Regions from separate parts of the Homo sapiens genome. Here region 2 is linked to region 1. Evidence: promoter capture Hi-C in 16 types of primary human blood cells and fetal thymus (Javierre and others, 2016). All regions are on one chromosome and are shown on one strand. Each heading gives the region's core, a stretch centred on a gene start or on the middle of the fragment in contact. The rest is flanking DNA. Distances are from core to core; before and after follow the strand shown.

Evidence for each region. The method cuts DNA at HindIII sites, captures the fragments that hold promoters and counts their contacts. A CHiCAGO score of 5 or more calls a contact.
Region 2: a contact is called between the fragment with the promoter of EIF3M here and a fragment that was not itself captured in region 1, in 1 of 17 cell types (total CD8 T cells). The highest score is 6.6, in total CD8 T cells.

What each region holds. Positions count from the first base shown.
Region 1 is chr11:27,363,630-27,367,510 of GRCh38, reverse strand. It overlaps LGR4 (leucine rich repeat containing G protein-coupled receptor 4), which reads left to right. Exons shown (of 18, transcript NM_018490.5): 18 at 1-1,550. Among named protein-coding and RNA genes, the nearest start is that of CCDC34, 2.4 kb to the right of the region's middle. RefSeq lists an enhancer at 3,870-3,881. The HindIII fragment of the contact is 2,201 bases long and covers 813-3,013 here.
Region 2 is chr11:32,581,637-32,585,517 of GRCh38, reverse strand. It overlaps EIF3M (eukaryotic translation initiation factor 3 subunit M), which reads right to left and starts at 1,687. Exons shown (of 11, transcript NM_006360.6): 1 at 1,589-1,687. The coding sequence starts at 1,630. RefSeq lists enhancers at 1,532-1,681, 1,324-1,976 and a silencer at 1,842-1,901. The HindIII fragment of the contact is 5,112 bases long and covers 1-1,972 here.

The DNA.
Region 1 (3,881 bases), core at 664-3,163:
TTTTTTAAAAATCTATTTTAAAATGTGATTTTCTATAACTGAAGAAAATATCTTGCTAATTTTACCTAATGTTTCATCCTTAATCTCAGGACAACTTACTGCAGGGCCAAAAAAGGGACTGTCCCAGCTAGAACTGTGAGAGTATACATAGGCATTACTTTATTATGTTTTCACTTGCCATCCTTGACATAAGAGAACTATAAATTTTGTTTAAGCAATTTATAAATCTAAAACCTGAAGATGTTTTTAAAACAATATTAACAGCTGTTAGGTTAAAAAAATAGCTGGACATTTGTTTTCAGTCATTATACATTGCTTTGGTCCAATCAGTAATTTTTTCTTAAGTGTTTTGTGATTACACTACTAGAAAAAAAGTAAAAGGCTAATTGCTGTGTGGGTTTAGTCGATTTGGCTAAACTACTAACTAATGTGGGGGTTTAATAGTATCTGAGGGATTTGGTGGCTTCATGTAATGTTCTCATTAATGAATACTTCCTAATATCGTTGGCTCTACTAATATTTTCCAATTTGCTGGGATGTCACCTAGCAATAGCTTGGATTATATAGAAAGTAAACTGTGGTCAATACTTGCATTTAATTAGACGAAACGGGGAGTAATTATGACACGAAGTACTTATGTTTATTTCTTAGTGAGCTGGATTATCTTGAACCTGTGCTATTAAATGGAAATTTCCATACATCTTCCCCATACTATTTTTTATAAAAGAGCCTATTCAATAGCTCAGAGGTTGAACTCTGGTTAAACAAGATAATATGTTATTAATAAAAATAGAAGAAGAAAGAATAAAGCTTAGTCCTGTGTCTTTAAAAATTAAAAATTTTACTTGATTCCCATCTATGGGCTTTAGACCTATTACTGGGTGGAGTCTTAAAGTTATAATTGTTCAATATGTTTTTTGAACAGTGTGCTAAATCAATAGCAAACCCACTGCCATATTAGTTATTCTGAATATACTAAAAAAATCCAGCTAGATTGCAGTTTAATAATTAAACTGTACATACTGTGCATATAATGAATTTTTATCTTATGTAAATTATTTTTAGAACACAAGTTGGGAAATGTGGCTTCTGTTCATTTCGTTTAATTAAAGCTACCTCCTAAACTATAGTGGCTGCCAGTAGCAGACTGTTAAATTGTGGTTTATATACTTTTTGCATTGTAAATAGTCTTTGTTGTACATTGTCAGTGTAATAAAAACAGAATCTTTGTATATCAAAATCATGTAGTTTGTATAAAATGTGGGAAGGATTTATTTACAGTGTGTTGTAATTTTGTAAGGCCAACTATTTACAAGTTTTAAAAATTGCTATCATGTATATTTACACATCTGATAAATATTAAATCATAACTTGGTAAGAAACTCCTAATTAAAAGGTTTTTTCCAAAATTCAGGTTATTGAAAACTTTTCATTTTATTCATTTAAAAACTAGAATAACAGATATATAAAAGTGTTAATCTTTGTGCTATATGGTATGAAATACAATATTGTACTCAGTGTTTTGAATTATTAAAGTTTCTAGAAAGCAATCTATTTTGCCTTAATTTAAAACTAGGTATATTAATGAATTTAGTTTTAAAGTAAGCAAATTAAATATTTGTAAGTGGACAGTATTAGAAGAAATGTTGGAAGTAACCATTAGAAAACACTATTTTGATATTTATTTGTAAACATATAAGAACATTTTGCTGAAACTTAGAAATAAGGTTTTATCCTAAGTCTGAACTATACTCATGGAAAACAGATTATGAAATTTCAGAAAAACCATTGATTCAATCTTTATCTAAAAAGCAAATGATTAAAAAATCTGCATGATATTAAATGTAGTCAGTTGCCCAGATGCTTAGAAATACTTCAGTATTTACAATCATTAAGTCCTCATTTTACAGATGAGAAAACAAAAGGCTTAATGAAATTTAAGTGAATCCCTGAGTCACAGCAAATTTGACCCCAAACCAGAACCCAATGCCTCTTCATTTGGGACATAATTTTGTGTGTGTGTTTGTTTTAAATTTCATATATGCTTGAAATTTCCATAACAAAAAGTAGAGTAGTATAATTACCCCACCTCCCTACCCTTCACCCCATACCTGTCACTGCTTTGACAATTATCTGCAGCATGTAGTGAACCTTGTTTCATCTTCATCCTATTCACTAATCCCCTCCAATCCCTCTGCCCCTTGCATTATTTTGAAGCAAATTTAAGACATTATATTGTTTCATCTGTAAATACTAATGTCTAGGGATAAATTTTTAAAGTTGCATAATATATGCCACAGGGCTAACTGGTGATGGAATTATTTAAGCAAAAGTGACTCTTATATAAGTTTCCAGAGCCAGCAAAACATAATTACCTCAAATATACCATGGCCAAAGTACTAATTGTATGAAAAGATGTCACTAAGTCAATACCCTAAAACTTAAAGGGAGAGACACTCTTTTATACATTTGTACATTTATATATAATTCTACCCATCTCGATTATGGCTTCTCAGCTCCAGTAATGAAAAGGCACTGTAAGAAATGAGGCCGCTGGACTTAATTATGTTCAAACACCAGCACCAGCACCATCTGACTCTGCCTCATACCCTTGGGGGGGTCCAGCATTGCTAGTGCATAATGTCACAGTTGGTCATAATGATGACCCTGGCGCATCAAGAAAAGGGTATACTTTGTTTAGGAAAACATTTTAAGGGGACAAAGAAGTATATGACATTTAGATTCCCATGCGTAGAGGTTAAAGTGAAAAAGTTCTGAAGTTTACACACAACTTTTCATTGTATCTTTCTGATTCTGAGCTTAGAAACTTTGAGAATTAATGAGATAATATGACCCTGTGAGGTAAATTTTTCCCCTATTTTCAGAGGAGTGTTAGGAATGGAAAACCTATCAAGTACCAAGAAAACCACTGATTCCAGGTCCCTTTCATACTAGTGTTTTTCCCACTACAGTTATGTTTGGTTATATCTATTGGAAAACAGCTTCTCAAGCTTACCTCTTTATGAGGCCCTAAGGCAGCTCAGTGCGTTTCGATGTTACTGATTCTAGAGATGTTCTGATAAAAGGTTTTTAAATGCCAATATTGAATAACTAGGGTCGAGAACGAAAACTCCATTAGGTCAGTTTTATTCCTTGATCAACTTTATTACTCATTTGGAGTGCTCCAATTTTCTTTCATTTTGTTTTCACCGAAATTTTAAAGAAAATATTCAATTTAAATAGATTTAATCATGTCATATTTTATTAATTATAGCTCTGCCTTCTGAATTGCCTTTGGTTGCTATTACTTCTACCATAGCTAATTCTCCTGTGTTAAATTTTGCAGATCTAGATTTCATCAAAGTTTTTGTATCACTCTGGTCACTAAAAAGTTTTGTGTGATGTGTTAGCCATGGTCAATTTTCGTTTATGGTATTTCTACCGGTAATATACATTATGAACTGGACAAAAGCCCTATTTATTTACAAATGTACAGTTTTGTCAGCATGAATAAAGCATCTACCTTTCCTTTACTGCCTTTATCCCCATTCCCGAGAGTGCCCCTCAGATCCCACATAAAATGCATATCAGCATATTTACTGAGATCATTTTTCACGACAACAGGATGAGGAACTTAAGGGCGAGACTTTTAATCATCTATCCCTTGTGCTTTACGCAGACCCTACAATACACTAGAGGCTTCAAAGAGGTCAAAAATTCACATGTGTAGACAAATTAGGTCCCTTAAGATGCCAGGCAAACGAAGTGCTACCAAAACACGCAATGACTGTCCTAAAAGTGCGTTCTGGGATACACCTGTAAACTTGGATCAAGTTCCCTCCCCTCTCCTCAAAATATATCGACTTGTGCTGAAAGAAATC
Region 2 (3,881 bases), core at 438-2,937, 5.2 Mb before region 1:
AAGGAAAACAAAAAAAGATAAAGAATTCCATTTAACTCTAATCAAGCTGAGAATTTCACCAAAGTTAAACTAATCCTGAGCAATTTCATATTTCCCTGAAAGGACTGTCTACAGCGATACTGATGTTACAAGAACAGAAGCAGAGCCTGAGAAAAGACACTTTAAGATACGATCAATGACAAGAACTTCCTCCATTCACTTTGTATGTTAAAAAAAAAAAAATTCCAAACACTTTCTCAGTTAACCTAACAGCCAACTGTTGGTAACATGCTTCCATTTCTAATCAGGTATCTTTTTGTCTTTCATATCTTCCTATCTGTGCTTAACCTCCCCATCCTTGACCTTTTCTCCGCCTTTTGCATTTTCCCTTCTTACTTTGCTCTTCAGAGCATCGGAACTGCATTCCTACCATGGGGCGGGGGGAGGAGAGAGGGGGAACTCACTCCCGCAATTCTGTAAGTTGTCTTAGACAAGTAAACTTCCATGCGAAGTTTATGATATCCAATCATTTGGAAGTTACTTCCGTGTTAGTGGAGTAACAGAAATAAAACGACAAAGTTAGGACTTCACAGAAGAATTTTCAGCAATACAAAATTAACTTAAAGAATACGATGTCGTGTTCAACTCCTACCAAATAAGGTTAAACTTTTGTTATGGGGAAAATGAGAACCATCAGCCCTGTATACCAAAGAGCAAACGCCAAACGGGAAATTTAAAAATATCAGGATGGTCCATCAGGTGTATGCCTCACAGAATTTAAGAGCTGAACTGATACCATACTTCCGGGGTACAGAACAACTCTCACCCTCATACAAGTAGGAATAGAAAGCAAGTGTAAAATACGGGTCGTCTTCGCCTGTGATCGCACAGTAATACGGGCGTTTTGATCTTTTTTTTTTTTTTTTTTTTTGAGAGGGACTCTCGCTCTGTCGCCCAGGCTGGAGTGCAGTGGCGCGATCTTGGCTCACTGCAAACTCCGCCTCGCGGGTTCAAGCGATTCTCTTGCCTCAGCCTCGGCAGTAGCTGGGACTACAGGCGCGTGCCACCGCGCCCGGGTAATTTTTTTGTATTTTTAATAGAGACAGGGTTTCACCGTGTTAGCCAGGATGGTCTCGATCTCCTGACCTCGTGATCTGCCCGCCTCGGCGTCCCAAAGTGCTGGGATTAAAGGCGTGAGCCACCGCGCCCGGCCCGGCATTTTGATCTTTAGCACAAAATTACTTTTCCCTACCCTGCTTATGCTAACTACAGATTCACCACCTCCCACTCCGAATGTGGCTGCATTTGACGGACGGAAGCAGACATCATTCCTCATCAGTCTAAAAGTACTATGTCGTCAGAAATGAGTCCCGACGCCGACCAGGGAGCTGGCGGTGAAGCGTCGGGCCCCGCGCTGGGACCGCCGGCCGGCGAGCTGGTGCGAATCGAGGCCAGGAACGCGCGCCCCAGCCACCGGCCTCCCCATTCTCGCGTGTAGAACAGCTGCGGGTGTCAGCCCCGGCCGCCCGGCCCAGGCTCGGCAGCGGTCCCTTGCGCTACTAGGACATCCCCCACCCCACCGTGGCGGCACCCGTAGACCGAAGCACACCTGATCTTCTTCACTGATGTCGATGAAGGCCGGGACGCTCATGGTGCAGGCCCGGGCACAGCGGACACTCCACTCGCAAGACCACGCCGACCGGAAAAGGGAACTGGGCCGCGCGACGCTGCTGGCGCAACTGCTTCCGGGTCACCCTGAGCGGCGACCTGTTGGGGCGGGGCCTTGAGAGCCAATCCTATCGCGCGCTCTCGCCGCGGAATGCAGCAGGGCGTGGCAGACGCGCTCGGGCTGGCCTAGTGGGTGGGACTTACTGGGCCTCCACTCAGCGACGCTTGTCGCGGCCTCCAGTTTTCAGGCCCGTGTAGCTAACTGCATTGATGTTGCCTCCCGCTGGCGCCTCCCTAAGTCCACCTTCCCTTGAAATGTTAAGCTTGTTGGGTCTTACCAAGTATGGATGGGTTTGTGTAGACCTGAAACTCTCCTGTACTGCTGTTGGGAACATAAAATGGTGCAGTCACTTTGCAGAGGAGCGGCAGTTTCTGAAAAAGTTCAGTATCCACCCAGCATATGACCCAGCTATTCTTCTACCCAAACTGTATGTCCGTACAAAGACTTGTACAAGAATGTTCATTGCCGCTTTTAAAAAATAGCAGCTTTGGCTGGGCGCAGTGGATCTCACGCCTGTAATCCCAGCACTGTGGGAGGCCGAGGTGGGCGGATCACTTGGGGTCAGGAACTGGAGACCAGCCTGGGCAACATGGCAAAACCCCGTCTCTACTAAAAATACAAAAATTACCGGGGCATAGTGGTGCGCGCCTGTAATCCCAGCTACTCGGGAGGCTGAGGCAGGAGAATCACTTCAACCTGGGAGAAGGAGGTTGCAGTAAGCCCAGATCATGCCACTGCATTCCAGCCTGGGCGACAGAGCGAGACTCCGTCTCATAAAATAAATACACAATTCAGTAGTTTTTAGTATTTTCAGAGTTGCACAACCATCACTACTATTTAATTTTAGAACATTTTCATCACCTACAAAAGAAACTACCCATCAGCAATCACTCCCCAGACCCCCGGCCCCACCTCTCTCCAGCCCCTGGCAAACACTACATTTTGTCTCTATGAATTTGCCTTTTCTGGACATTTCATGTAAGTGGAATCACAAAATACACGGTGGCCTAAGTCAGACTTACTTCATTTAGCATAATGTTTTCAAGGTTCGTCCATGTATCCCTCCTATATTCCTATTTATTGCTTATAATATTGCATTGTTATGGATATACCACATTGTGTTGATTTGTTCATCAGTTGGTGGACACTTGGGTTGTCTCCATTTTTTGGCTATTATGAATAATGTTTCCATGAACGTTAGTGCACAAGATTTTGTGTGTACGTATATTTCTCTTAGGTATGTACCTATGAGAGGAATCAGTGGCTTATTTAGTAAATTTATGTTTAGCTTTTTCAGGAGACAGTTTCCAAAAAGTTAACACTTTATTTTCAATAGCCAAAAAAAAGGAAACAACCCAAATGTTCATCAATAGATGAATGAAGTGGATCAAAAAATTGTTATACATCTGCTTAATGGAATACTGCTGTGCAACAAAAAAGGATGAATTATTGATACATGCAAAAACACAGATGAATCTTTTTTTTTTTTCAGTCTCTTCAGCCTGGGTGACAAAGTGAGTGAGACTCCATCTCTTAAAATAAAAGCTTGATTTTTTTTCTTTAGTTGACAATCCCAAAATAATTCAAAATAATTTTGTTCAGTTAATCATCATACTGTATGATTCCATTTATATAAAACTCTAGAAAGTAGAAACTATAATGACAGCATTATAGATTGCTGTTGCCTGGGGGCAGGGATTGGGTAAGGCGGGGGGAAAGATGGATACAGAGGGGCTTGAGGAAGTTTTTGGGGGTTATGGATGTGTTCATTATTTTGACTGTGATTGTGTCATGATTGTATACATATATAACATTTTTCAAAGTGTGCAGTTCAAAAATGTGCAGTTTATTGATACCACAATTATACTTCAATATAAAATAAATGCCAAGCAAAGGAAAAAAACAAGGTTGAGGGGATAGAGGACACAAAACATCTGGCTAGACTAAATTTGAAAGGATTCATTCTTGCATGGAATAGCCTTAACAATGTGGAAAGTGAAACTGAAGGCAGGGAACCTGTGTCATGTTCACCCTGCATTTCCGCACCCACCTCAGTGCCCAGCCCACAGCAGATCATCAGGAAATACCAGTTGATTCTGAAGGAATAATCCCTGGGCTCCTCCCCTCGCCTTATTATTGCAAAGTTCGAGGAATACAAACTCAACAATACAAT